6 separate regions of the Homo sapiens genome follow, and regions 2, 3, 4, 5 and 6 are each linked to region 1. Evidence: promoter capture Hi-C in 16 types of primary human blood cells and fetal thymus (Javierre and others, 2016). All regions are on one chromosome and are shown on one strand. The core of a region is centred on a gene start or on the middle of the fragment in contact, and the rest is flanking DNA. Distances in the headings are between cores, read along the strand shown. Region 1 holds the start of PADI3 (peptidyl arginine deiminase 3). Region 2 overlaps SDHB (succinate dehydrogenase complex iron sulfur subunit B). Region 3 has its middle 4.4 kb from the start of RCC2. Region 4 overlaps PADI2 (peptidyl arginine deiminase 2). Region 5 overlaps RCC2 (regulator of chromosome condensation 2). Region 6 overlaps PADI6 (peptidyl arginine deiminase 6).

What was found. The method cuts DNA at HindIII sites, captures the fragments that hold promoters and counts their contacts. A CHiCAGO score of 5 or more calls a contact.
Region 2: a fragment that was not itself captured here is called in contact with the fragment with the promoter of PADI3 in region 1 in 2 of 17 cell types (neutrophils and monocytes); the score reaches 14.9 in neutrophils.
Region 3: a contact is called between a fragment that was not itself captured here and the fragment with the promoter of PADI3 in region 1, in 1 of 17 cell types (neutrophils). The highest score is 5.1, in neutrophils.
Region 4: a fragment that was not itself captured here is called in contact with the fragment with the promoter of PADI3 in region 1 in 11 of 17 cell types (monocytes, neutrophils, megakaryocytes and 8 more); the score reaches 19.3 in monocytes.
Region 5: a fragment that was not itself captured here is called in contact with the fragment with the promoter of PADI3 in region 1 in 3 of 17 cell types (M0 macrophages, neutrophils and M2 macrophages); the score reaches 7.1 in M0 macrophages.
Region 6: a contact is called between a fragment that was not itself captured here and the fragment with the promoter of PADI3 in region 1, in 6 of 17 cell types (neutrophils, M0 macrophages, megakaryocytes and 3 more). The highest score is 9.0, in neutrophils.

What each region holds. Positions count from the first base shown.
Region 1 is chr1:17,247,119-17,251,412 of GRCh38, reverse strand. PADI3 (peptidyl arginine deiminase 3) reads right to left here and starts at 2,315. Exons shown (of 16, transcript NM_016233.2): 1 at 2,184-2,315. The coding sequence starts at 2,275. The HindIII fragment of the contact is 2,587 bases long and covers 2,051-4,294 here.
Region 2 is chr1:17,034,630-17,038,923 of GRCh38, reverse strand. All of the region lies in intron 2 of SDHB (succinate dehydrogenase complex iron sulfur subunit B), which reads left to right. Among named protein-coding and RNA genes, the nearest start is that of SDHB, 17 kb to the left of the region's middle. The HindIII fragment of the contact is 3,780 bases long and covers 393-4,172 here.
Region 3 is chr1:17,441,950-17,446,243 of GRCh38, reverse strand. No RefSeq gene overlaps it. Among named protein-coding and RNA genes, the nearest start is that of RCC2, 4.4 kb to the right of the region's middle. The HindIII fragment of the contact is 6,214 bases long and covers 1-4,294 here.
Region 4 is chr1:17,069,775-17,074,068 of GRCh38, reverse strand. It overlaps PADI2 (peptidyl arginine deiminase 2), which reads left to right. Exons shown (of 16, transcript NM_007365.3): 14 at 2,578-2,663; 15 at 3,853-3,981. Among named protein-coding and RNA genes, the nearest start is that of SDHB, 18 kb to the right of the region's middle. The HindIII fragment of the contact is 1,384 bases long and covers 1,164-2,547 here.
Region 5 is chr1:17,420,691-17,424,984 of GRCh38, reverse strand. It overlaps RCC2 (regulator of chromosome condensation 2), which reads left to right. Exons shown (of 13, transcript NM_018715.4): 5 at 2,149-2,280; 6 at 2,694-2,782; 7 at 4,157-4,271. Among named protein-coding and RNA genes, the nearest start is that of RCC2, 17 kb to the left of the region's middle. RefSeq lists an enhancer at 2,180-2,934. The HindIII fragment of the contact is 4,272 bases long and covers 1-3,997 here.
Region 6 is chr1:17,380,321-17,384,614 of GRCh38, reverse strand. It overlaps PADI6 (peptidyl arginine deiminase 6), which reads right to left. Exons shown (of 16, transcript NM_207421.4): 5 at 3,451-3,568; 6 at 2,523-2,648. Among named protein-coding and RNA genes, the nearest start is that of PADI6, 10 kb to the right of the region's middle. RefSeq lists an enhancer at 2,150-3,349. The HindIII fragment of the contact is 3,969 bases long and covers 1,060-4,294 here.

The DNA.
Region 1 (4,294 bases), core at 1,066-3,565:
ACGGTCAGAGAGCTGGGAAGTTGCAGAGCCAGGACTGAGCCACAACACCTACTGCCCTTTCTCTTGTTGGCCCGCAGGCTGAGGACCCAGGATTGTTACATCATGGCACCTCCAAGCCGGGAGGGACCTCAGAACTAACTCAGTCCTGCTCCCCTTCCCAGAAAGGAGTCCTTTCTGTGGCACCCTTGTAAGAAGGTTGTCCAGCCTCTGCTGGCTTCTCAGAGAGGAGGAGCTGCTTGTTCTCCCCTGTATGTGTCCCCAGAGCCTGTGCTCATCCTTCAAGGCTCTGAATGGTACACACACTAGACCCAAAAGAAATACTTGAAGAATATGTGAATGAACGAACTAGGAGCTCTCCACTCCCACCCCTGGGGGGTTTGGCCACCAGGGCCCAAGAATCCCTCATTTGAAGGTATCAGAGCTTCCATCCCCCACCCTGTGGCTGTCCCACCGATGGCCTTCTCTGCAAACCTCCAGTGTGGCTCAGGTGACTCCAGGAAGCTATGGCCTTTATCTCTTATTGCCCCAATCCATCCTCTATCCTCTAAGGAAGCTCTGCGGGGGAGGAGCCAGGCCCAGGCTTCCTGGGACAGGTCAAACCGGAGACACATCTGCCCAACGGGCACGAGGCAGCAGGGGCAGGTGAGTCACCCCATGGCACGCAGCCCAGTCACCCCATGGCAGGCAGGCAGTGGTGCCAAGTGGCAGATACCCCTCCTTCCTCATTACCTCCTTGGCACAGCCTCCGTGGCTGCCCCTTCCTTCAAGAACCACTGAATCCCCTTCCTCCTCCTACTGCCCACCCACCAATACCAGGATTTATTTCCTGGGCTGGCTCTGCTCCCGACTTGGTTCCCTCCCATGACCAGCTCCTCACCCCCTCTCATCCAATGCCCTGGATCAACCCCATCGCTGCTCCCGACTAAGTTCGCCCTGATTTTTCGAGTCTTAGTCTTGGAGACTCGTTCTCAATGGGTGGGCTATTTTCTTCCCACCCCAGGGCACATTTGGCAATGTCTGGGGACATTTTTGGTTGTCACAACTCGGGAGTGTGCTGCTGGTATCTAGCAAAGAGAGGCCCAGAATGCTGCTCTCCATCCTACAGTGCACAGGGTGGCCCCCATGACAAAGAGGTATCGTGACAGCAGTGCTGAGGTTGAGAAACCTGGCCTGAGGAGAGGGCTGGGAGACTTGAGAGGTGAGAGCTGTCCCACAGTTCTGCACCCTCCCCTCCCAGTATCCTGATTACCTCCAAGCCAGGACCCTGGATTCTCCCCAAAAGCCTAAGAAGCCAGCTCCCTGGTGGTCCCCAGAGCCCAGCTCTTAAAACCCTACCCTAACCCTCTTTTCTTCCTAAGAGAGAGAAGATAAGGCCTTACCTCCCTCTACCATGGGCCTCAAAGGCATGACCTGGCACACAGTAGGAGCATAATGCATGGGCATTGAGTGTCTAGAGGAAACCAGGTTGGAAATCTTTATTTTCCAAGTATCAGAGCAGCTAAAACCATAAGACTCCTGAGTAAGACCACAAGCGGGTTTAAACCCTGGCTTTGCCACTTAGTAACTGTGTGACTTGAGCAAATGGCTTGCCCTCTCTGCCTCGGTTTTCTCATTTGTCTGATGAGATGATGCTAATAATAAGCCTAGCTCACAGGGTTGTTGTAAGGGTTAAATTCAAGATTAAAGTTCAAAACTTAACTCAAGAGACTTGTGAAGCTCTTAGAATAGTGCCTGGCACATGGTAAGTGCTATGTATTAACTTATTTTTTAAAAATGATTCATGCTCTGTTTCTAGGCTCATAGGCTCAGGATGGGGCTGGGGATATCTGCCTGTTCCTATTCTTGTGTGCCCCAGACAGATCCTCAGCCCAACCTGCAGCATCCCTTGGACATAGAAAAGTGCCATCTCTTCGCGGCACCAGCCCCCTCCAAGCCCCCGGTCTGGAGCTCAGTCACTGAAGCCTCTTCTACCTGGCTCAGCCTCCCAAACTTCAAATTCCCTGGCTAAGGTCTTCAGGAAACTCAGTAGAGCAAGAGGAGGACCCAAGCTTCCCTGATTGGCTGCTGTTCCGAGGCCAAGGCTGGGGAGTGGGCCCTGAAGAAGCCCTGCCCAGCCTGCAGGGAGGAAGGTCCAAGGGCATCAGCACCAAGGGCCTGCAAACCACTAGGCCTCTGACTCTTACCCATAAATGTCCACGAGGGTCTCCACGCCAGCCACACACACCGCGCTGGTGGGATGCTCCAGGGACACACGCACGATTCTCTGCAGCGACATGCTGGTGTTGGACTTAGCTGTGGCCGCCAACCCCAACACTGCCCCTGAGGCCCCTTAGGATGAGGTTTAAAAGCCCCTGGCCCCACCCCTCCAGCCCAGGGTGCCAATTCATTGGCTCCAGTCATGAAAGCCCAGCCCCTTCCCAGAGCTGAGAGCTCAGGATTGGCTGGAAGGGACCCAGTATTTGTATACGAACCTGTTGTCCCGACCCCGGCACCCAGGAAGTTAATTTCTTGGGAAGCAAGTCCCCACAGGTACCTGGCTAGGCACCAGGAACTGTTGGGGGCAGGTGCTGTTGAGGGGGTGCAGAGATATATGATATTGATCTCGGACGCTTCTTGCTTCCTCACCTCCATTTTCTGCATTTTCAGAGACTATAATGGGGAGCTTTCTTACTCTGCTGGGGAAGCTGGTGAAAATGCGGATTCCCAGGTCTGTTGTCCACTCTGATCCAGCAGGTTAGGGGTGCAGCCTGGCCTCTGGATTTTTTTTTTTTTTTTTGAGACGGAGTTTCACTCTTGTTGCCCAGGCTGGAATGCAATGGTGCGATCTCGGCTCACCGCAACCTTCGCCTCCCAGGTTCAAGCAATTCTCCTGCCTCAGCCTCCCGAGTAGCTGGGATTATAGGCGTGTGCCACCACTTCCGGCTAATTTTGTATTTTTAGTAGAGACGGGGTTTTTCCATGTTGGTCAGGCTGGTCTTGAACTCCAGACCTCAGGTGATCCACCTACCTCGGCCTCCCAAAGTGCTGGGATTACAGGCATGAGCCACAGCACCCGGCCCTCTGGATTTTTTAATAAGCACCCCCAAAGCATTTTGGTGCCCTTTGAGAAACACCAACTTTTTTTTTTTAATGGATTTTAGAGCCAGACCTGGGTTTCAGCCCTGCCTCAGCTGCTTCCTGGATGGGCGACCTTGGGCAAGTTTCTTTTTTTTTTTTTTTTTGAGACAGAGTTTCGCTCTGTCACCCAGGCTAGAGTGCAGTGGCGTGATCTCGGCTCACTGCAAGCTCCACTTCCCGGGTTCACGCCATTCTCCTGCCTCAGCCTCCCGAGTAGCTGGGACTACAGGCGCCTGCCACGGCTCCCGGCTAATTTTTTGTATTTTTAATAGAGGCGGGGTTTCACCGTGTTAGTCAGGATGGTCTCGATCTCCTGACCTCTTGATCCACCCGACTTGGCCTCCCAAAGTACTGGGATTACAGGCGTGAGCCACCATGCCCGGCCGGGCAACTTTCTTAATTGTTCGTGCCTCACTTTTCTCGTCTGAAAAATGGTTGCTGTGAGGCCTCAGGGGCCAGCGTTGGTAGAGCTCTGGTATGGAGCTTGGCGTTATTGTATTACTATTGTTGCTGTTATTAGGTCCCAAAAACCTCTGAAAGCGGTAAATGATGAGGGTGAGAACTCTCTCCAGCCAGGGGGAGCTTGGCATGTCAGAGTAGGAAAGCTCAGTCGTCAGGTGGGAAACCGAAGTCAGAGGGGCATTCAGGCTCCTGGAAGAGCAGGAGCAAGGGCTCTGGGGAGAGAAGTCTTGGGTTCAGAGGCAGGCTCCACCGTGCACCCACTATAGGGCCTTGGGTGTCAGTGTCCCCCCTCTTGGAGACTCGGTTTCCTCATCTGTAGAAAATGCAGCTAATCACTGGCCCTGGCGGAGATAATAGTGAAGACGCACCCTGCCTGGCGGAGGCTCAGGAGGTGCTGAATAGAGGTTTCCTCCCTTCTCCCTGGCAGTGCTGACAGCCTGAGACAGGATGGGGACCAGGACCCGCTCCCCAGCATCTCCAGCTGGGACATCTGCACCAGTTCAAGGGCCTCAACAGGACCCTGAGATTGTCATTCCCATGTCTCAGTTTTTGGGAAAGATGTTCTTTTCAAGGAGAACTGCTGGGCTTCTGGGTCAAGGGACAGCTTCACTTTTTTCAGCTGTGGAATGGCTTGATGGCTGAGTCAGCCTTGGGAGCCCTGGGTAAGAGTTCGAGCTCAGGAGGAAGCCTTAGTCTCCCTAGCCTTCTTGTGAGC
Region 2 (4,294 bases), core at 1,033-3,532, 210 kb after region 1:
TTTGATTGCTTTAATATATGCAGAAAAGCATTTGGCAAGATTCAACACTCATTCATGATTTTTAAAAATGATAATGGGTTAAATAATTTTCACAGTGTGTATATTTTAACAGAATAAATAAATAAAACTATAAGGAATTTGAATTAAAAGGAATAGTCCTAATTTTACTTAAATAATAACTGCTAATAGGAAAAGAAGGGAACTTCATCAGCCAGATGAAGACTGTGAAAATCACAGCTAATAGCATACTTTATTGTGAGATATTGAACACTTTCCCCATAAGATCAGGAATAAGGAAGGTTGTCCACTCTGTATTTGAGTTCAACATTGTACTGAAGGTTCTAGCCAGTCCATGAAAGGCAAGTAAAAGAAGTAGAAGGCATATGTAAGCTTGGAAAGGAAGAAATTAAACTAACTGTAGTCACAGGTAACATGATTGTTTACATAGAAAATTTCAGGGAGTCTACAAAACTAAAAGAATAAGTAAATTTAGCAAGGCTGCAGGATGTAAGGTCAATATGCAAAATACTATTTGTGTGTGTGTGTATTTCAATGGCTACAGATAATTCTATTTATGCTAACATCAGCCATTCAAAATTTTACTGGAGGCTTAGCCAGGGAAATTGGGTGAGAAAAAGAAAGAAAAGGAAATTGGAAAAGAAGAAGTAAAACTGTCTCTCATAGATAACATAATCTTTTACACAAAACCTTGGGCAGGCTCAGTGGCTTGTGCTTATAATCCCAGCATTTTGGAAGGCTGAAGCAGGAGAATTTTTTTTTTTTGAGACAGAGTTTTCGCTCTTGTTGCCCAGGCTGGAGTGCAATGGCACAATCTTGGCTCACCGCAACCTCCGCCTCCCGGATTCAAGCAATTCTCCTGTCTCAGCTTCCCAAGTAGCTGGGATTACAGGCGCCTGCCACTACGCCCAGCTAATTCTTTTGTATTTTTGGTGGAGATGGGGTTTCTGCGTGTTGGTCAGGCTGGTCTCGAACTCCTGACCTCAGGTGATCTGCCCACCTCGGCCTCCCAAAGTGCTGGGATTGCAGGTGTGAGCCACTGTGCCTGGCCTGAAGCAGGAGAATTGCTTGAGCCTGGGAGTTGGAGACCAGCCTGGGCAACAAAATGAGACCCCCATCTCTACAAAAAAGCAAACAAAAAATTAGCCAGGCTGGGTGCGATGGCTCACGCCTGTAATCCCAACATTCTGAGAGGCCAAAGCAGGCAGATGACTTGAGTCCAGGAGTTCAAGACCACCCTGGACAACATGGCAAAACCCTGTCTCTACTAAAAATACAAAAATTAGCCAGGCATGGTAGCACACACCTGTAATCCCAGCTTCTTGGAAGGCTAAGGCACAAGAATTGCTTGAACCTAGGTGGCAGAGGTTGCAGTGAGCCAAGATCACGCCACTGCACTCCAGCCTGGGCAACAGAGCAAGACTGTGTCTCAAAAAATTTGCCAGGTGTGGTGGCACACTCCTGTAGTCCGAGCTACTTGGGAGGGTGGGGTGGGAGGATCACTTGAACCCAGGAGGTCGAGGCTGCAGTGAGCCATGATTCCATGCCCTACACTCCAGCCTGGGCAACAGAGGGAGACGCTGTCTCAAAAAAAAAAAAGAAAAGAAAATATAAGACATTGCCCCCTAGGAACTATTAGAACTAATGAACAAATTCAGCAAGGTTGGAGGACACAAAACTGGTATACAGAAATCAAATGTAGTTTAGTTTTTTATTATGCATAATTTGTCCATGTTTATTTCAACCTATGTCTGTCAGTCTTCATTTTATATTGTACCATGTTTTAATTATAGTTCTATTTCCTTCTAATCCGACTCTGAAACCCTACTTTGTAGCTATGTATACACACACAAAAAATAGCTATATTCTTTCATTTTCACAACAGCATAATTCTTTTTCTGAAAATACTGGCGTGTAGCAGATATTAGCAGATAAATGTATTTTTCTAGGCTAGGCATGGTGGCTCACACTTGTAATACTAGCACTTTCTTTGTGAGGCCAAGGCAGGAGGATTGCTTGAGGCCAGGAGTTTTGAGACCAGCCTGGGCAACAATAGCAAGACTTAGTCTCTACAGAAAAAATGTGTGTGTGTGTGTGTATACATATATATTTATATATGTATTTATATTTATATATTCATATTTATATAAATATTTATATTTATATATTCATATTTATATAAATATTTATATTTATATATTCATATTTATATAAATATTTATATTTATATATGTAAAACCCTGCTTACCTAGAAAAAAGCCTGTAAGTACTGTTAAAAAAACAAAAATTGGATTTCTATACACTAGCAATGAACAATCCTAAAATGAAATTTAAAAACTATTTTCCATATAACAGCATCAAAAAAGAAATTCTTAGGAACAAATTATATGGGCAATAAGACAAAACCCCATCTCTACAAAAAAAGTTAGCTGGGCTTGATGACCTTCCTGTGCCTATAGTCCCAGCTACTTGGAGGCTGAGGTGGGAGAATCACTTGAGCCTGGGAGGTCAAACCTGCAGTGAGCTGTGATCACAACACTGCACTCCATCCAGCCTGGGCGACAGAGTGAGATCCTGTCTCAAAAATCAAATAAGTAAAAGACTTATATGCTGAAAAACTGTAAAACATTGTTGAAAGAAATTTAAGAAGACATAAATAAATGGAAAGACATGCCCTGTTTGTGGGTTGGAAGACTTAATGTTGTTAAGGAGGCAGTGGTCTCCAAATTGATTTCCAGATTCATTGCAATCCCCATCAAAATCCCACCTGCCTTTTCTGCAGAAGTTGACAAGTTGATTCTAAAAATCTTATAGAAATGCAAGGGACCCAGAATATCAAACAATTTTGGTATCTATGTAAAATCTGAGAAAATTTATGTTGTACTCTTTAATGAGCCCTACCTATTAGGAAATTTAGCATGAAACAGCTTAAAGAGAGGACTTTGACTTTTTAATATTTTTCTCTGTCCCAGTATGATCTGCAGGATTACTTTTTACCTTTGATTTGAATTTATTTATTTATTTATCTATTTATTTATTTATTTTTTTGAGACAGTCTCGCTCTGTCTCCCAGGCTGGAGTGCAGTGGTGCGGTCTCGGCTCACTGCAACCTCCGCCTCTGGGGTTCAAGCAATTTTCCTGCCTCAGCCTCCCAAGTAATTGGGACTACAGGCACGTGCAACCACACCCAGCTAATTTTTTGTATTTTTAGTAGAGACGGTTTCACCACGTTAGCCAGGATGGTCTCAATCTCCTGACCTCATGATCCACCCGCCAAGGCCTCCCAAAGTGCCTCCCAAAGTGCTGGGATTACAGGCGTGAGCCACCCACCTGGCCAATTTGAAATTTTTATAGGCTGCAAATATTAGCCTTTGTAATGTAAAAAAAACAAAGATGTTGTTGTCATTTAAAATATGCTAGGACAAGAACAGGCAGATCATTAGAATAAAAATGTAGCAACAAAACAGACTCAATTTTATCTAAGTTCCCAGTATTAAATATGGGAGAAAGGTATTACAAATAAGAAGCAAAAGAGGATTTAGTCAGTGATTTGGGACAACTGATACAGTTTTTGCAGTTTTAGGGGAGTAACTTAAAATTTTTTTTAAGTAGAAAAAAATGTAAAGTATTTATCAGACCTCAGGAAGGGCAGTGGTCTGTTTAGGCTTAAAAGTGATAGATAATGTTATAAAAGAAAGAATAGCCACCTTTATTAATGTAAACATTTAACTCATGTATGTTTAAAATTCTGTTACCAAAATTAGAAGTCAAATAGCACATTACTATTGGCAGTGAGGGAGGAAGCAGAAATGGCAACAGATATAATATATAAGAGCCTCAGATCATGAAAAAGAATTTCCAAGACCCTGGTAAACAGAGGCAAAGAATGTGGACAGACTGAGTCTCTAGAATGAGTCCTCTGGAACAGAGCTTTGTGCGGGCAGGTGGTATTCGTCTCTTTTATTCTCTGCTACATCCCCAGCATCTAGAACAGAACCTGGCAGAGTAAATGTTCAATAAATAATTGGGAAATAAAGAAAAATTAGTAAATTTATGACAAACATTCAACCTATGTAGTATTCAAAAGTCTCGATTTAAAACACTGAAAACAATAACACTTCTCCAGTATCAGAATAGCAAAGGTTTTTAAAGCTTCCAATTCCCAGTGTTAGCAGAGGTCCAGCAGAAAGGACGTCTACATAGTGCTGATACAAATACAGATAATGGGCCAGACGCAGTCGCTCACACCTGTAATCCCAGCATTTGGGAAGGCTGA
Region 3 (4,294 bases), core at 986-3,485, 190 kb before region 1:
AATCATGGCAGAAGGGCAAGCAGGCACCTTCTTCAAAAGGCAGCAGGAGGCCGGGCGTGGTGGCTCACTTGAGGTCAGGAATTTGAGACCAGCCTGGCCAACATGGTGAAACCCCATCTCTACTAAAAACACAAAAATTAGCCAGGTGTGCTGGTGTGTGCCTGTAATCCTAGCTACTTGGGAGGCTGAGACAGGAGAATTGCTTGAACCAGGAGGCAGAGGCTGCAGTGAGCCAAGATCACTGCACTCCAGCCTGGGCAACAGAGTGAGACTCCATCTCAAAAAAATAAAATAAAATAAAAATAAATAAATAAATAGCTGGGCGCAGTGGCTCACGCCTGTAATCCCAGCACTTTGGGAGGCTGAGGTGGGCTGATCACGAGGTCAGGAGATCGAGACCATCCTGGCTAACACGGTGAAACCCCGTCTCTACTAAAAATACAAAAAATCAGCCACGCGAAGTGGTGGGCGCCTGTAGTCCCAGGTACTCGGGAGGCTGAGGCAGGAGAATGGCGTGAACCCAGGGGACGTAGCCTGCAGTGAGCCAAGATCGCGCCACTGCACTCCAGCCTGGGCAACAGAGCAAGGCTCCGTCTCAAAAAATAAAAAAATAAATAATAAATAAATTAATAAATAAATAAAAACATGACATTTGGGTGGGGACACAAAGCCTAACCACATCAGCCAGCTTGGTGAGTCTTGGTATTCTGCATCCTGGACCTCCTCACCCTGGACTAGATGCATCTTTTTTTTTTTTTTTTTTTTTGAGACGGAGTCTTGCTCTGTCGCCCAGGCTGGAGTGCAGCGGCGCGATCTCTGCTCACTGCAAGCTCCACCTCCCGGGTTCATGCCATTCTCCTGCCTCAGCCTCCCGAGTAGCTGGGACTACAGGCACCCGCCACCATGCCTGGCTAATTTTTTGTATTTTTAGTAGAGACGGGGTTTCACCGTGTTAGCCAGGATGGTCTCGATCTCTTGACCTCGTGATCCACCCTCCTCGGCCTCCCAAAATGTTGGGATTACAGGCGTGAGCCACTGCGCCCAGCTAGATGCATCTTAAAGTATGAGAAACCACCTTTTGAATGGCTTCCACAGGGTATGGAAAAGTGGTATGATTTCAGTAGCACTTCTCATACTTTTTTTTTTTTTGAGATGGAGTTTCGCTCTTGTTGCCCAGGCTGGAGTGCAATGGCGCAATCTCCGCTCACCACGCCCGGCTAATTTTTAGTAGAGACGGGGTTTCTCCATGTTGGTCAGGCTGGTCTCGAACTCCTGACCTCAGGTGATCTGCCCGCCTCAGCCTCCCAAAGTGCTGGGATTATAGGTGTGAGCTACCATGCCTGGCTGCACCTCTCATACTTTAAGATGCATAAAAATCACCTGTTAAAAATGCACATTCTGGGCCGGGTGTGATGGCTCACGCCTGTAATTCCAGCACTTTGGGAGGTCGAGGTGGGTGGATCACCTGAGGTCAGGAGTTCGAGACCAGCCTGGCCAACATGGCAAAACCCCGTCTCTACTAAAAATACAAAAAATTAGCTGGGTGTGGTGGCAGGTGCCTGTAATCCCAGCTATTTGTGAGGATGAGGCAGGAGAATCGCTTGAACTGGGAGGTGGAGGTTGCAGTGAGCCCAAATTGCGCTACTGCACTCCAGCCTGGGCAACAAGAGGGAAACTCCAACTCAAAAAAAAAAAAAAAAAAAAAAAACACATTCTGATTCAGTAGGTCTGGGGGCTGAACCTGAGATTCAGTGTTTATTTTTATTTTTTTGAGACAGGGTCTCACTCTGTCACCTAAGCTGGAGTGCAATGGCATGATCATGGCTCACAGCAGCCTGGACTTCCCAGGCTCTGGCGATTTTCCCACCTCAGCCTCCAAAGTAGCTGGGACTACAGGTTTGCGTCACCACACCTGACTAATTTTTTTCTTTTCTTTTCTTTTATTTGAGAGAAGTCTCACTCTTATCCCCCAGGTTTGAGTGCAATGGCTCGATCTTGGCTCACTGCAACCTCCGCCTCCCGGGTTCAAACGATTCTCCTGCCTCTGCCTCCCAAGTAACTGGGATTAAGTTGCCTGCCACCACGCCCGGCTAATTTTTGTATATTTTAGCAGAGACGGGAGTTTCACCATGTTGGCCAGGCTGGTTTCGAACTCCTGACCTCAAGTGATCTGCCCGCCTCGGCCTCCCAAAGTGCTGGGATTACAGGCGTGAGCCACTGCGCCTGGCCGCGGCTGGCTAATTTTTTTCTAATTTTTGTAGAGATGGGGTCTCACCATGTTGTCCAGGCTGGTCTCCAACTCCTGGGCTCAAGCAATCGTCCTGCCTCAGCCTCCCAAAGTGCTGGGATTACAGGCGTGTACCACCACGCCTGGCCAGATTCTGTGTTTCTGACAATCCTCCTACTGATGCAGATGCCTGTACACTTCCTGGCTATCCTATCTGCCAGCTGTGTGGCCTCAGGAGGCCTCAGCATCTCCCTGGGCTTCAGTTCTTCCGCTGGATATTATTTAGATGAACAAACATATATTGACAGCTTACTACACGCCGGGCTGCTCTGGGTGCTTGCTAGAAAAACAAAGATGAAGAAGCCACAAGCCAAGCCCAGGCATGCCTCACAGACAGAGAACTTAAAGGTCCAACTACAATATTTAAAGACTCTGCGTTTGAAAATTTCATGACTCATTGGCAGAAATAGGACGACCGGATCTGCATCTCCCAGAAAACATCTCTCCAAACACTATGACAGGGATTCCCCGCTGACTACTGTCCTCAGAATCAGGGAATACGAAATCCAGAAGTAACCTCAAGAGAAATTTAGCCCAAACTCTATCTTGCCATTTTACAGAGAGGAGAAACTAGAGAACAGATGCAGAAAGAGTGGGGTCTGGAGGAAATTACTGGTTTTCCAGCTATGCTTTCGAAGGCTGTGATGTCCAACAGGAATAACATATGAGCTACAAAAAACTTAATATGTAATATTAAATTTTGTGGTAGTCACATTGAAAAGAGTAAAAAGAAGCCAGGCACAGTGACACATGCCTATAATCCTAGCACTGTGGGAGGCCAAGGCAAAAGGATTGCTTGAGGTCAGGAGTTTGAGACCAGCCTGGGGAACATAGTGAGACCTTGTCTCCACAAAAAAATTTTAAAAATTAGCTGGGCGTGGAGGTGCACGTCTACAGTCTCAGCTACTAGGGTGGCTGAGGCAGGAGAACTGTTTGACCCCAGGAGGTCGAGGCTGTAGTGAGCCAAGATGGCGCCACTACAGTCCAGCCTAGGTGACAGAGTGAGACCCAGTTTCCAAAAAAAAAAAAAGAGAAAGAATCGTTTCCATTGGTTAGCGCATCACTCCCAGGATCACTGGTTTCATTTTTATAGACACTGGATCAGAAAATTAATCTTTCAAGTACAGGTGTAGCTTTCTGTAGCCAAGTTGAATAGAATTACACTTCTGAGGCTGGGCACAGTGGCTCACGCCTGTAATCCTAGCACTTTGGGAGGCGAAGGCGGGCAAATCACGAGGTCAGAAGTTCAAGACCAGCCTGGCCAACATGGTGAAACCCCGTCTCTACTAAAAATACAAAATTAGCTAGGCGTGGTGGTATGCGCCTGTAATCCCAGCTACTTGGGAGGCTGAGGCAGGAGACTGCTTGAACCTGGGAGGTGGAGGTTGCCACCACTGCACTCCAGCCCGGGTGACAGTGCGAGACCCCACCTCAAAAGAAAAAAAAAAATGAATTATACTTCTGAGGCTGTGCACAGTGGCTCACCCCTATAATCCCGCAACTTTGGGAGGCTGAGGTGGGAGGACCACTCGAGACCAGCCTGGGCAACAGAGAGAGACCTTGTCTCTACAAAACATTAAAAAAGAAAAAAAATTTAGCCAAGTGTAGCTGTCCATGCCTGTGGTCTCAGCTACTTGGGAGGCTGAAGCGAGAGGATCGCTTGAGCAAGGAAGGTAGAGGCTGCAGTAAGCTGGGATCATACCATCACCCTTCAGCCTGGGTGCTGGAGGAGCAAGATTCTATCTAAAAAAATAAAAAAAAAAAAAAAAAAAAGAAAGAAAAAATCACACCTCACCCCTGGAAAAGAACTTAAGCGTAGCTGAATCTAACTTGCAATATGATTTTGCTGAAGATGAGGTTAAAGAGTGACGGCAGGCTGGCACTTGCAGCCACATTTCCAAAATTCTGGGTGTAAAATGCTCAGCACAGTGCCAGACACCTGTGCCTCAAAGTGTCAGAGAAATCTCAGCCACCTTCTTTCCCTTCCCCTCTCCCGGTTTTGCACCA
Region 4 (4,294 bases), core at 606-3,105, 180 kb after region 1:
TGCAATCTGCATTCAAGGAGCTTGTATTTTAGAAAGAGAGATAGAAAATAGATGCAATACAATTTAGGGACAGGAAGAAAAGTGGACTTTAGTGGGCAAAAGGCATGGTCAGACATCGTGGTTGTCAGTCCAGAAGTGAGACATTATCTTCTACGTTTAGACATTCACATAATTGGGACAGACATAGTCGGGATGAGGTTTGCATTTGAATTAATCACGGAAAGAGGGAAAGATGATCAGGTGGAGACAACCAGCCAGGTTAGAGACACCATGCCAATTCCTCATACTTCTTTTTTTTCTTTTTCAACTTCTATTTTAGATTTAGGGGGTACATGTGCAGGTTTGTTACCTGGGTGTATTGTGTGATTTGGGGTATGAATGATCCCATCACGCAGGTACTGAGCATAGTAGACAACAGTTAGTCATTCAACTCTTTCCCTCCTCTCTCCCTCCCCACTCTAATAGTCCCCAGTGTTTGCCATTGCCATCCTTATGTCCAACATGTTTTTTATTGTGATAAAATATACCTAATCTAACACATTTGTTATTTTAACCACTTGTAAGGACACAGTTCCGGGACATTAAATACATCTACAATGCTGACTAACCATCAGCACTCTCTATATCCGTTATACTTTTTTTTTTTTTTTTTGAGACACAGTCTCACTCTGTCGTCCAGGCTGGAGTGCAGTGGTGCCATCTCGGCTCACTGCAAGCTCCGCCTCCCAGGTTCAAGCCATTCTCCTGCCTCAGCCTCCCCAGTAGCTGGGATTACAGGCGCCCGCCACCACGCCCGGCTAATTTTTTGTATTTTTAGTAGAGGTGGGGTTTCACCATGTTAGCCGGGATGGTCTCAATCTCCTGACCTCATGAACCACCCGCCTCGGCCTCCCAAAGTGCTGGGATTACAGGCGTGAGCCACCATGCTCGGCCTATTTTTTTCTTAAATTACTTTTGTCACTTTTCAGGTTGGTATCCATAATATATCTCATGCCTGAAAGCCTGAGTTCCCGCAGCTGGTTGATACTTACATGACTGCCCCTCAGATCCAAAGACAGTGTTCCTGACTGTCACTGGTGTCTAGGACAGACAAGACCAATTTAACACCACCACCCTTTTTAAATTCCCCACTGATGGGAAGTTTGTTCTTGGATTGGCAAGCTTGAGTCCTGACTTCCTGGAGGCTTCCTCTCTAATATTAAACATACCCTCAAAAACTACCCATAGGATATAGGGACCATTATTTTTGTACAAATAGGGGCAAGCAGTGCCCCAGATTTCTCTTTGTATTTTAGAAAGAGAGATAGAGAGAAAATAGATAGAATACAGTTTGGGGACAGGAAGAAAACTGGACTTTGATGGACAGAAGGCATGGTCAGGCATCGTCATTGTCAGTTCAGGAGTGAAACATTATCTCCTGGACTTAGACATTCATGTAATTGGGACAGACAGAGAGAGGATGCGCGGATGTGCAGTCAGCAGAGAGTAGAAGCACATAGGAGACCTGGGGAGGAAGGTGAACCAGGCAATGCCAAAGAGCCAAGATCTCCGCTGGACCAGAGCCCACAATGTTTGGGGAAAACACATCCCTTTAAAAGATGATAAAAACTACAGACTTGCCCTCCAGAAAAATGCTTATATCAATCTATCTCCTGAACTTGGATCAGTTTTAGAAAATCACAGATCCCTAAAGTTTTCTGTTTCTACCTGGACCCTCCCTTCTGAGTCCCTAAGCCTCAAAGATTACATCCGGCTTGTAGCTGGGCATCTTTACTGCTGTCCAGTTATAAACCTGGGAAGTGCAATGGACCAGCAGTCTCTTCCCAGATGAGGCCAAAATAAATAAACAAATAATAGGTTAAGAGCATAGGCTCTGGAATCAGACTGCCTGATCTGCACACCAACTCTGCCGCTTGCTAGATGTAAGTCCTGAGACAAGTCACATAACTTCTCTGTGCCTCAGTTTCCTCATTTTTCAGGGTAGTGACTACCCCATAGAAATGTGGGGAGGATCCATGAGTTAATTCAATGTAAAGCGTTTAGAAGAGCGTCGGCCACATAGTAGGTGCTCATTGAGCATTAGGCATTACTAATCAAGCTGGAAGCCACATAAGCCATCGTGTGGTACAGGAGGAAAACGCAGGCCACTCCAGAGCAGCAGCCAAGATGAGGCAGCTCTGGAAAACAGGAAGGGTGTCCCCTTTGGCCATGCTGCTTCTGCCACATTCATGCTGGTCAGCTGCTCATCCTTAGGAGTAGGCTGTAGGTGGGAGAACCAGGGGGCTACTTGTAGCACCCCTGATCCCACTGGCCAAAGCAAGAGCAAGGCAGCTGCCACCACTGTCCTGGCTCAGATGTCATGGTCAACTCTGGAGAAAAGAGTGTGTGCTGCCCTCCCCAGACAGAGGGGGGCCTGATTTTGCCTGGGAGTGCCCTCCTGTGATCCAGCCTCTCCCCAGTCCCATCTCCCCAGTCCCAGTCCAGCAGTTAGCCCAGGCCTGGAGGATCTTGGCAAAAGGGGAACACTCAGCCTGGGTATCTAAAGCTTGACCATCCCCTGTCCTTTGAACCCCACAGGCTTGGGTGGGATGAGCAGCAAGCGAATCACCATCAACAAGATTCTGTCCAACGAGAGCCTTGTGCAGGAGAACCTGTACTTCCAGGTGAGGGCAGGGCAGGGGTGCAGGGCCAGAGGGCCCCTGGGAGGGATGAGGCTCAGGCCCTTACATCCTTGGGGCTTCCGTAGAGAATGGCCAAGGGCTCAGGAGCTCCTGACCCCGAGCACAGCAGCACAGGGAAGAGCCTCCACCAGCATCCAGCCAGCCTCCTTGCTTTGCTCCTGGGCTAAAGTCCCAGGGTTAAAGAAGTGCCAAATTGTGCCGCCCCCTCACTTGGGGAGGTAGGACCATGGGCAACTCACTAAGGCTGTCTTTGGGTCTCTCATCTCTAAAAAGGGGATAATGGGGGCCAGACACAGTGTCTCATGCCTGTAATCTCAGAACTTTGGGAAGCCAAGGCGGGAGGATTGCTTCAGGCCAGGGGCTTGAGACCAGCCTGGGCAACATAGTGAGACACTTGTCTCTACAAAAAAAATAAATAAAAACTTTGGCCGGGCCTGGTGGCTCATGCCTGTAATCCCAACTCTTTGGGAGACTGAGGTGGGCAGATCACCTGAGGTCAGGAGTTCAAGGCCAACATGCCCAACATGTTGAAACCCCATCTCTACCAAAAATACAAAAATTAGCCTGGCGTGGTGGCAGGCGCCTATAATCCCAGCTACTTGGGAGGCTGAGGCAGAAGAATCACTTGAACCCAGGAAGTGGAGGTTGCAGTGAACCGAGATCGTGCCACTGCACTCCGGCGTGGGCAACAGAGTGAGACTCAGTCTTAAAAAAAAAATTAAAAGGGAATAATAATAGCATCTATATTACAGGGCTGGAGCTTAAATAGGCAATCTATGTAATGCGCTTAGAACAGTACTAAGCACATGTACGCATTAGCTTTTGTTATTACCAAAATCATCAGTGTTATCCTCAGCTCATGGGGTGGCCCGAGGGGTCACTGAGGTGCTGTGTGGGAAGCACTTAGCACAGGGACCGGCTCTAGTGAGTGCTCAGGAAATGGCAGCTGCTGTTCTGGCATCTGTGACCTTCCTCTGTCCTATTACGACTGCTGTTCATGAACCCCGGTGGACAGGGCCAGGGAGAGGCTGCAGAGGCGCCCGCTGACTGCTAGAAGTCTCTCTGGAGTGCCGGGGCCCCTGGCCTGGTGCTGCAGACAGGGATGGGGTTGACAAGGTGGCCGGTGTGTGTCCCCCTCACCTGCATGCCCTCCATCCTTTCTCCTACCCAGCGCTGCCTAGACTGGAACCGTGACATCCTCAAGAAGGAGCTGGGACTGACAGAGCAGGACATCATTGACCTGCCCGCTCTGTTCAAGATGGACGAGGACCACCGTGCCAGAGCCTTCTTCCCAAACATGGTGAGGCCCTGCAGACCCCAACCCTCGCCCCATGCCAGTACAGGGCAGCCAGATCCAGAAGGACCCCTCAGCTGAAGCTGTCCAATGGGGAGGCCCAGGTCCCAATCCTGGCTGAGCTGCTGTGTGACCTCACCTCAGGCACTTGCCCTCTCTGGGCCTCCATTTCCTCCTAGGAGTGATATGCTCATCCTAGCTGCTTCACTGGGATACTGGGAACCCTTTTCCTTAACAGATAGGAAAGTGCTGTGCAAAAGATTAGAAGTCCTTTATGTACAGGAGGGATTTCTGTTACATAGAGGGGAGTCTTCTATAA
Region 5 (4,294 bases), core at 612-3,111, 170 kb before region 1:
TTTGCTTTTTTGGAGTTGTTCGGCTTTCCCTTCTGTTTTTCCTCACCTGGGCACTCGGGATGGGTTCCAGTTCTTCTGTTAGCCTCTGTCCACGGCACTGTCCTCTGCAGCCGGCCGGCCCATTCCTGCCCGTGTCCTCTTCCAGATCATTCCAATCATAGGGTATGGGCTAAGGCTCATTTTATCCCCAGCCCTTTTGGTGACTCCCGGCCTCTGCCTCCAGCGGGGCATATTGGCGTTTGTCCCCACCCTTTGTCGCTGGTCCTCTGGCTAGCTTTTAGTCCATATGACTGCATTTTTATTTTGGGCTGTTTGAACCGTTTTTTGTGATTTCATGAGCTGCTGTACCAAAGTCCAAATATATTAACATCTGTTGTCTTCCCTGCACATGGCTAATTTTGTAATTCTGTTGAAAAAAGCTAAAGTGTGTCTGGCCCAAATTTATACTTTATAGTCTCTTGATGACATGCTGACATTGCCACAGTTTTTGTTTTCTCCCGGTTGGCATAGATGTGTGTCCCTTCCCCCAGAGCACCCCTCCTACTTTGTGTTCCAACACTGAACACAGCCTTTTATGTCAGTGTTCCAAACTTAAAATACCTCAGTTCTGATCTCTCGCTGAGCTTCACTTGCGTGGTGGCTCTGAAAGCGCCCTCAGTTCTGACCCTGTGGGCAGGGACAATGTATGTCCCGCCATCAAGACGTGTGATCCCCGAGCAGACAGTGCAGTTGGTGAGGACAGGGTTGGAAGGTGTCACAGGCCCACTGCTCGCCACTCTAGAAGGCAGGGGGCGGCGTCTGGTGTGAGTAGAGTACCACGGGAGGGTGGCTGACGCATTGCTCATGTGGGGTCTCCATCTGTGGCCCGCTCACCCTGTCCTGCCGCATCTCAGTCCACTGAGACTTGCACTTGTTGCTCTGTATTCACATGCCTTTCACATGAACTTGGGCAGCTCCCATTGGAAGCTGGTGTATCTGCCTCTCCTGCTCGAGTGCCAGTGCTGGCCCTTCAGCCCGCCGTTCTTTAATTAGAGCGAGTCAGAGGCTGGTTTCCCTTCGTCGCAATTCCTTCTGTAGTCAGAGGCTGCTCCTGCAAGCCTTCTCCAGGACAGCTGGAACTCATCTTAATGGCTCTGCTGTCTGCCTTTATCACAACCTAAGGGTGAAAAGTTCATTGCTGGAGAAGGTTGCAAAACCCCCTAGAATTGCCCTGACTTCTCACCACTGTAAGATCTCCGTCAGTTTCCCCACGTCAGGTTACATGTGTGGTTTTTCTCTTATCGGGAGGGATCCGAGAGTGGCCGGTTGAATTTTTGTTTTGGAACTTGGTAGTTTGTGTTGAAACCTAGATGCGGTGTAGGGGCTCCCAGCCCTCCTTTTGGCCCACCCAACTTCCACGTCTGTTTGGAGTTGAATTTGGTTCTGCAGAGGACTTGGGGGTAGGGGTTGGCCCTCAGGCCTGCCTTCCGCTGGAATTCACAGATACAGGGCCTTGGTCGCACCTGCAGCAGTCCTGGAGGTGGGGCTGGGCGTGTTGTGTTGAGGGTGGATCTGTGCTTTGTCACCAGGGTTCCTGTGGCTGAGAGTCCTTGAGGGGCGATCCCTAGGGGTGGGATTGGCACTGTTATGTGAGCACCATTTACAGGGTAGAAAAAGGAAGAGAAATATTGGGCAGACACCAAATGGTCCTCAGTGGATGCCCAGAGCACCAAAGTGATTAAACTCTGGTGAGCCAGGTGTCAAAATGGGGTGCTGTCTTAAAATACATCTCAGAGGGTAGGGACGGGGTGGTTGTCTTGCAGGCACTCTAAGTGGGAACGGCGTGTTTCTGCGAGCATGCCCGCCTGTGCATGGTGTCCCTACCACACTGAGCCTCTCATTTCCCTTTGTAGCAGAGACGTGGGAGGTGTGCACGGGTGGTCCCGCTGCTGCCCCAGGGAAGGAGGTCCGGGGAGCTGCAGCAGGCGCCATTCCAGCGGGCAGAGGGCCGGGGCGTTCTTTGCTCTGGATCTTGGCTGTTGGGAATTTGGAGGGTACCTTCCAGAGACAGATGGGCATCATTTGAGAGTGTGTTTGTACTCGCCTTCTCCTGGTGGTGCCGCCTGGACCACCCTCTCTCTTTTCTACTTTCTCTCATGTGATCTGCAGGTCGAAATGAGAAGGGGCAGCTGGGACATGGTGACACCAAGAGAGTAGAAGCCCCTAGACTCATCGAGGGTCTTAGCCACGAAGTGATTGTGTCTGCAGCATGTGGGCGGAACCACACCTTGGCCTTGACGGGTAAGGAGGTGGCTGCTGGTGTCTCCTCTCAGTTTGGCAAGAGGCCAGGTGGTCTGCCTTGGGGATGGGGCGTGGGGTGGTGGAGTTCCCCTTGTGACTCTTGGTCAGGATCAGAAAGAGGCCCTGAGAACCTTGGCATGGAGTGGCTTCTTGAGGGCATTGGGAGCCTCCCCAGTGGCCATAGGAGGCCCATCTGGGAGTAGGAGACGCTGCCCTCTGTTTCTCTGCACACCCAGTTTCTGATGTGAAATGGCTTTGCTGTGAAGCGTCTGCACTGCCAGCTTTTGGGCAGTCTCACTTGCCTTCTGCCTGGCAAATGAGCTGTTTTTATTATTTTGATGCCTTTGATTCTAAATCTAGTTCAAAACATTCACCATTATCTTCCCTTTTGTGATATTTTTCCTTTCTTCCAGAAACGGGCTCCGTGTTTGCGTTTGGGGAAAACAAGATGGGGCAGCTGGGCCTTGGCAACCAGACAGACGCTGTTCCCAGCCCCGCGCAGGTGACCCCTCCTCAGCTCCGGCTCCATGGCTTTTTGTTTCTCTTTACTTTTGTGTTTGATTTTCTAAGGTGGGGTCTCCGTTTGAGTTAATTTACCCCTTGTAAAAACAGGGTCTGGATGTTTAGTTACATGCTGTAGAGTTTTTTTGTTTGTTTTTTTGTTTTTTGTTTTTTTTTGAGAACGGAGTTTCACTCTTTTTGCCCAGGCTGGAGTGCAATGGCGCAATCTCGGCTCACTGCAACCTCCGCCTCCCGGGTTCAAGTGATTCCCCGGCCTCAGCCTCTGGAGTAGCTGGGATTACAGGCATGTGCCACCACACCTGGCTAATTTTGTATTTTTAGTAGAGACGGGGTTTCTCCATGTTGGTCAGGCTGGTCTGGAACTCCTGACCTCAGGTGATCCACCCACCTCGGCCTCCCAAAGTACTGGGATTACAGGTGTGAGCCACTGCACACAGCCTTGCTATAGTTTTTAAAACAGGCTTAGTTTGTGGTCGGGTTGAAAACCATCCTGAAAACATTTTGTTTCCAAATGGAGAAATCTGTTAGAAATGCCTTGTCGTAAGCCTGTTCTGTTCCAAAGAAAGTGAGTGATGTTATATGGATGTAATTGTACTTCCCCCAAATACTTTGTTTTGACCTTGTATAAAGTCACCAGCCAGATGCTTAGAATACAAATACGAGATAGGCAGTCTTTTTTTTTTGGAGGGGAGACAGAGTCTCGCTCTGTTGCCAGGCTAGAGTGCAGTGGCGCGATCTCAGCTCACTGCAACCTCTGCCTCCCGGATTCAAGCGATTCTCCTGCCTCAGCCTCCCGAGTAGCTGGGACTACAGGCATGCTCCACCACGCCTGGCTAATTTTTGTATTTTTAGTAGAGATGGGGTTTCACCATGTTGGCCAGGATGGTCTCCATCTCTTGACTTCCTGATCTGCCTGCCTCGGCCTCCCAAAGTGCTGGGTGTGAGCCACCGCGCCCAGGAGATAGGCAGTCTTTTTTTTTCTAAGAAACTTGAGTTGGAGGGGTGAGATTTATACCTTAAAAACAAACTACTACTAAAGGCAGAAGAATGCTAAGTGCCTAATTAGTGGTCTAGGTGATGAAGGAAGGGAGGGACTTGGTTTTATTGATCTTAAAGAGACAGTGGCTAGGCTTTGAACTGCTCTGTGCTGGGAGGGTGGGGGTCTGAGGGTGCTTCTTTACATATCTTCTAAGCTTTGTGTTCTAGAAATGCCTTCAGCTTTTGCCTTCAGAATTACTGAGTTTATTAAACTTCCGTTTGTAACCTAGTAATTGTTTCCCACCAACATGCAGAGAGGTAGAGGCTTTTTATCAGTCTTTAAAAAAAATGAAAGTCTCCTTTCTTGTCTTTTCAGATAATGTACAACGGCCAGCCAATTACCAAAATGGCCTGTGGGGCTGAATTCAGTATGATAATGGACTGCAAAGGAAACCTCTATTCCTTTGGGTGCCCTGAATATGGTCAGCTGGGTATGGAAGTACATTTTTTAAAA
Region 6 (4,294 bases), core at 1,795-4,294, 130 kb before region 1:
AGCTAAAGCCACCACACCTAGCTAATTTTGGTATTTTTAGCAGATGGTTTTAACCATGTTGGCCAGGCTGGTCTCAAACTCCTGACCTCAAAAGTGATCCACCAGTCTTGGTCTACTCAAAGTGCTGGGATTAAGGCATGAACCACCACGCCTGGCCAGGCTTCTTTATAAAAATAATCTTATCTCAGAGTCAAGGTCTCACTGTGTTGCCAAGGCTGGTCTTGAACTCCTGTGCCCAAGTAAGCCTCCTGCCTTGGCCTCCCAAAGTGCTGGGATTACAGGTGTGAGCCAACACACCCAGCCTGTTTCTAGAACCCTGTATTCTGGCTTTCTATTCCTCTGTAAACTTTTCAGACTCTTTTGCTGTATCTTTTTGTGGTTCAAGCTTTAGCATGTTTCAGAGTCACCTGGAAGGCTTGTTAAAACATAACATGCTGTGTTGCCCTACCCTGATTTTTAAGTTTTTTTTTTTGAGACAGAGTCCCACTCTGTCACCTAGGCTGGAGTGCAGTGGTGCAACGTCGGCTCACTGCAGCCTCTGCCTCCCAGGTTCACTCCTGCCTTGGTCTCCTGAGTAGTTGGGATTATAGGTATATGCCACAAAGCCCAGCTAGCTTTTGTATTTTTTAGTAGAGATGTGGTTTTGCCATGTTGGCCGGGCTGGTCTCGAACTCCTGACCTCAGGTGATCCGCCTGCCTTGGCCTCCCGAAGTGTTGGGATTATAGGCATAAGCCCCGTGCTCAGCCCCTAGATTGTTGAATAAGTTTTTTTAAAAAAATTATTTTTTTGAGTCTCACTCAGGCTGGAGTACAGTGGCATGATCTCGGCTCACTGCAACCTCTGCCTTTCGGGTTCAAGCAATTCTCCTGCCTCAGCCTCCTGAGTAGCTGGCGGGCATGCCCGCCACCATGCCAATTTTTGTATTTTTAGTAGAGACAGGGTTTCGCCATGTTGGCCAGGCTGTTCTCGAACTCCTGACCTCAGGTGATCCATCTGCCTCAGCCTCCCAAAATGTTGGGATTAGAGGCATGAGCCACCACGCCCAGCCTGAATAAGCTTTTTCAATAAAGAAACCGGTAGTTCGCTATGATCCACATGATGAAGTATGGCATCCTTAGCAAGCTACATGAACCGGCGGACTCCAAGGCCTGCCTGGCCTAATCCACCTACTTCAGCACTGGTAGCCTCCCAGGGCCAGAGTAGCCCTTGTGGCCTGAACCAGACCTAGACCCCTGGGTTTCTTCGGCTCACTCTAGCTCATGTGTAAGATGGCCACGTCCAAGCTGGGCTACCTTTTCTGGCTAATCCCAGGCTACTTTGAAATCCAGCTGAGATCTATGGTCTGCAGAAGAGATGGAGTAGGAGACTGAGCCAAGGCCCCAGAGTGTAGACCAGGAAGTGGCAGGGGCACACTCTCCAATGCTGGCAACAAAGATGGTGCCCTCTGAGAAGAGGCACAGTATAGACCACAGAGCTCCCTGCGTTGCGTAGCTGAAGCTAAGCATGGTTTACAAGACAAGGTGGCAGGTTGGGCCGGGTGCAGTAGCTCACACCTGTAATCCCAGCACTTTGGGAAGCCAAGGCAGGAGGATTGTTTGCATCCGGGAGTTTGAAACCAGTCTGGGCAAAGTGAGACCCCGTCTCTACAAGAAAAGCAAATTAGCCAGTTGTGGCACACACCTGTCATACCAGCTCCTTGGGAGTGTGAGGTAGGAGGACTGCTTGAGTCCAGGAAGCTGAGTCTAGTCTACAGTGAGCTGTGATCACACTACTGCACTCCAGCCTGGGTGACAGAGCTAGACCTTGACTCAAAGGGGAAAAACAAAACAAAACCCAAAGAAAGCATGCTGGCATGTCCGTCCAGAAGCAGAGCTAGCTCTCAATGAGAGATTTAGAGGTACGCCAAGTCCTGAGCCAGTTCAGGGAAGTCAAAAGATGTGCAAGGCTGTTTTGCTGGAGTTGGGCATGTGTACCTCCTAACCAGCCCTCCATCTATAGAATAGAGTATGCTACCTGCCTCCCAGGAGAGGAGGGCTGAAGATGGGTGGTGGATGGCGTGGTGGCTGGGATGCAGGTGCTACCGTGGCTGCCGCTCTAGAGGTTTTGGCCTCAGATTTCTGGAAATTTAACATAGTGGATCATTGGTTTAGAGTGAAGATGGATTCTCCTGAGAGGAGTCACTGGGAGATGTGATCTACTCTGTGTAAGGCAATAGCTACTGTTTCAGTGGATATGTCTCTCTTCTCTTCTAGCCTGCAGGGAAGGCACAGCTACCCCCATTTTACAAGTGGAGAAAGTGGCTTAGAGGTGCAATAACTCACCCATGTGTACAGATTTAGCCTATGGGGAAGGTGGCAGCCAGAGAATCCTGGAAACACAAGTACAGCCACAACAGCCTCTCATCTGCAGCTCTAGGTCTCCAGCAGGCTTCTGCTGGGGACCTTGCTGGGAGGAGGTGTGGGCACAACTTGCCTGGCACGTCGAGAGCAGGCAAAGCTGGAGCTGGCACAAGAACACTCACTTTGGGGCCAGTAGACTCTCGCCTTCTTCGACTCTTCCTTGGAGGTATGGAGGACTAGCCGATATTTCTTTAAGATACAGCTGGGGCCTTGGACATTCAGAGTCATCTGGGACAGATTCGTTATTTCTGGGCAAAAGACAAAGCAAAGGTTAAGGAATGTCTGGAGGCCAGCACTCTGGGGGTGGAGGGAAGAGCAGTAGAGAGGGGCCGGGAGTTTGAACAGAGCACCAAGGACCCCCTGCCTTTTGCTAGGGCCCAGGCCCGAAGAATTACCATTTCACTGCTTGTTCTAGGTGGCTACAGGCAAGCTGCAAACCTCAGGGCCTCCTTTTGAGGGAGGATGGGATTTATCCCATGGTCCCCCACAAACAGAACAGGGCCTACCTCGATCAGTTCAGTGAAGGTTCACCTTGTTTCCAGTCTTGTTTCCAGTCTCAGTAGGAAACAAGACATTCCATTCTACTGCTAAGACCCAGAACCCTGGTCCCAACCGCAAGTCAGGATCCAAGGCGAATTTTACCCAAGACAGTCCAAGGTTCCTGGCCCAGACTATGAGAGGCTTTTTAGAAAGCAGCGCATATACCCCTATTGTCTTCATTTAGTCTTGTCAACCAACTGATATAGTTGGGAGGCCAACTGCATCATCCCCATTTTACAAATAGGGAAACAAGATCAGGGAAGTTAGTGTGCTCAAGTTCACAGCTAGGAAACAAGTAACCACCCATGCTCTTTGCATGGGGCTATGTGACTTCTCTTACCCAATTATACATCTACAACTCAGGACAAAAGGTTTGATCAGCCCAGGCATGGGGACTGGGGAAGAGGGTGTCGGGGGTGGGGTGGAGAAAATTAGTCTGGAATCCATTTGCTGAGAAGCAGGGCAGCAAAGAGACCAAGAAGGAAAGGCAGAGACAGTCTGAGGTCCTACCCTCTGAAAAGATCACTTTCTTGGTTTTCTTGTCCTCAAGTTGCTGGCCCACATCAGCAGGGTTGCAATTCACAAGCAGGATGGCACCCCAACCGCTGGGACCCCAGATCCATTTTTTCTGCAAATGAGATGGGAACATTGGCTCAGGAAGGAGCCAAATAAATCTTCTGTTTCTCGGATGCACCTCATAGCAGAGGGGCCCAGCCAAGCCTTTCTCCAGGGTACAGGGACCCATGGAACAGGACTGGTGAGGTCAAGAATCTGTAGGCACAGGAAGGTCATGTCAGGTAAGGAGGCTAAGAGGAAGGGAAAGAAGCTAGGTTCGGGGTTACCAGTTACTTACCTCATATTTCAGAGTCAGAGAATCAGGGACCGAGGCAAATTGGAAAAGAGACGTGCCACCTGGCAGCAGCGGCTAATCCTCTCATCTAGGAGACTCCACAACCAGGGTAGGACATGAGCCTAGAGTTGCCAGACATTCTGGTTTTTTTTTTAGTGAGCTAGAAATTTAATCAGTTCTGATCCCAGTACTTCGGGAGGCCGAGGCAGGTGGACCACTGGAGATCAGGATTTCGAGACCATCCTGGCTAACACAGTGAAACCTCGTCTCTACTAAAAATACAAAAAAAACTAGCCAGGCATGGTGGCAGGCACCTAGAGTCCCAGCTACTCGGCAGGCTGAGGCAGGAGAATGGCGTGAACCTGGGAGATGGAGCTTGCAGTGAGCTGAGATCGTGCCACTGCACTCCAGCCTGGGCAACAGAGCGAGACTCCGTCTCAAAAAAAAATTAGCCAGGTGTGGTGGCACACGCTTGTAACCCCAGCTGCTCAGGAGGCTGAGGCA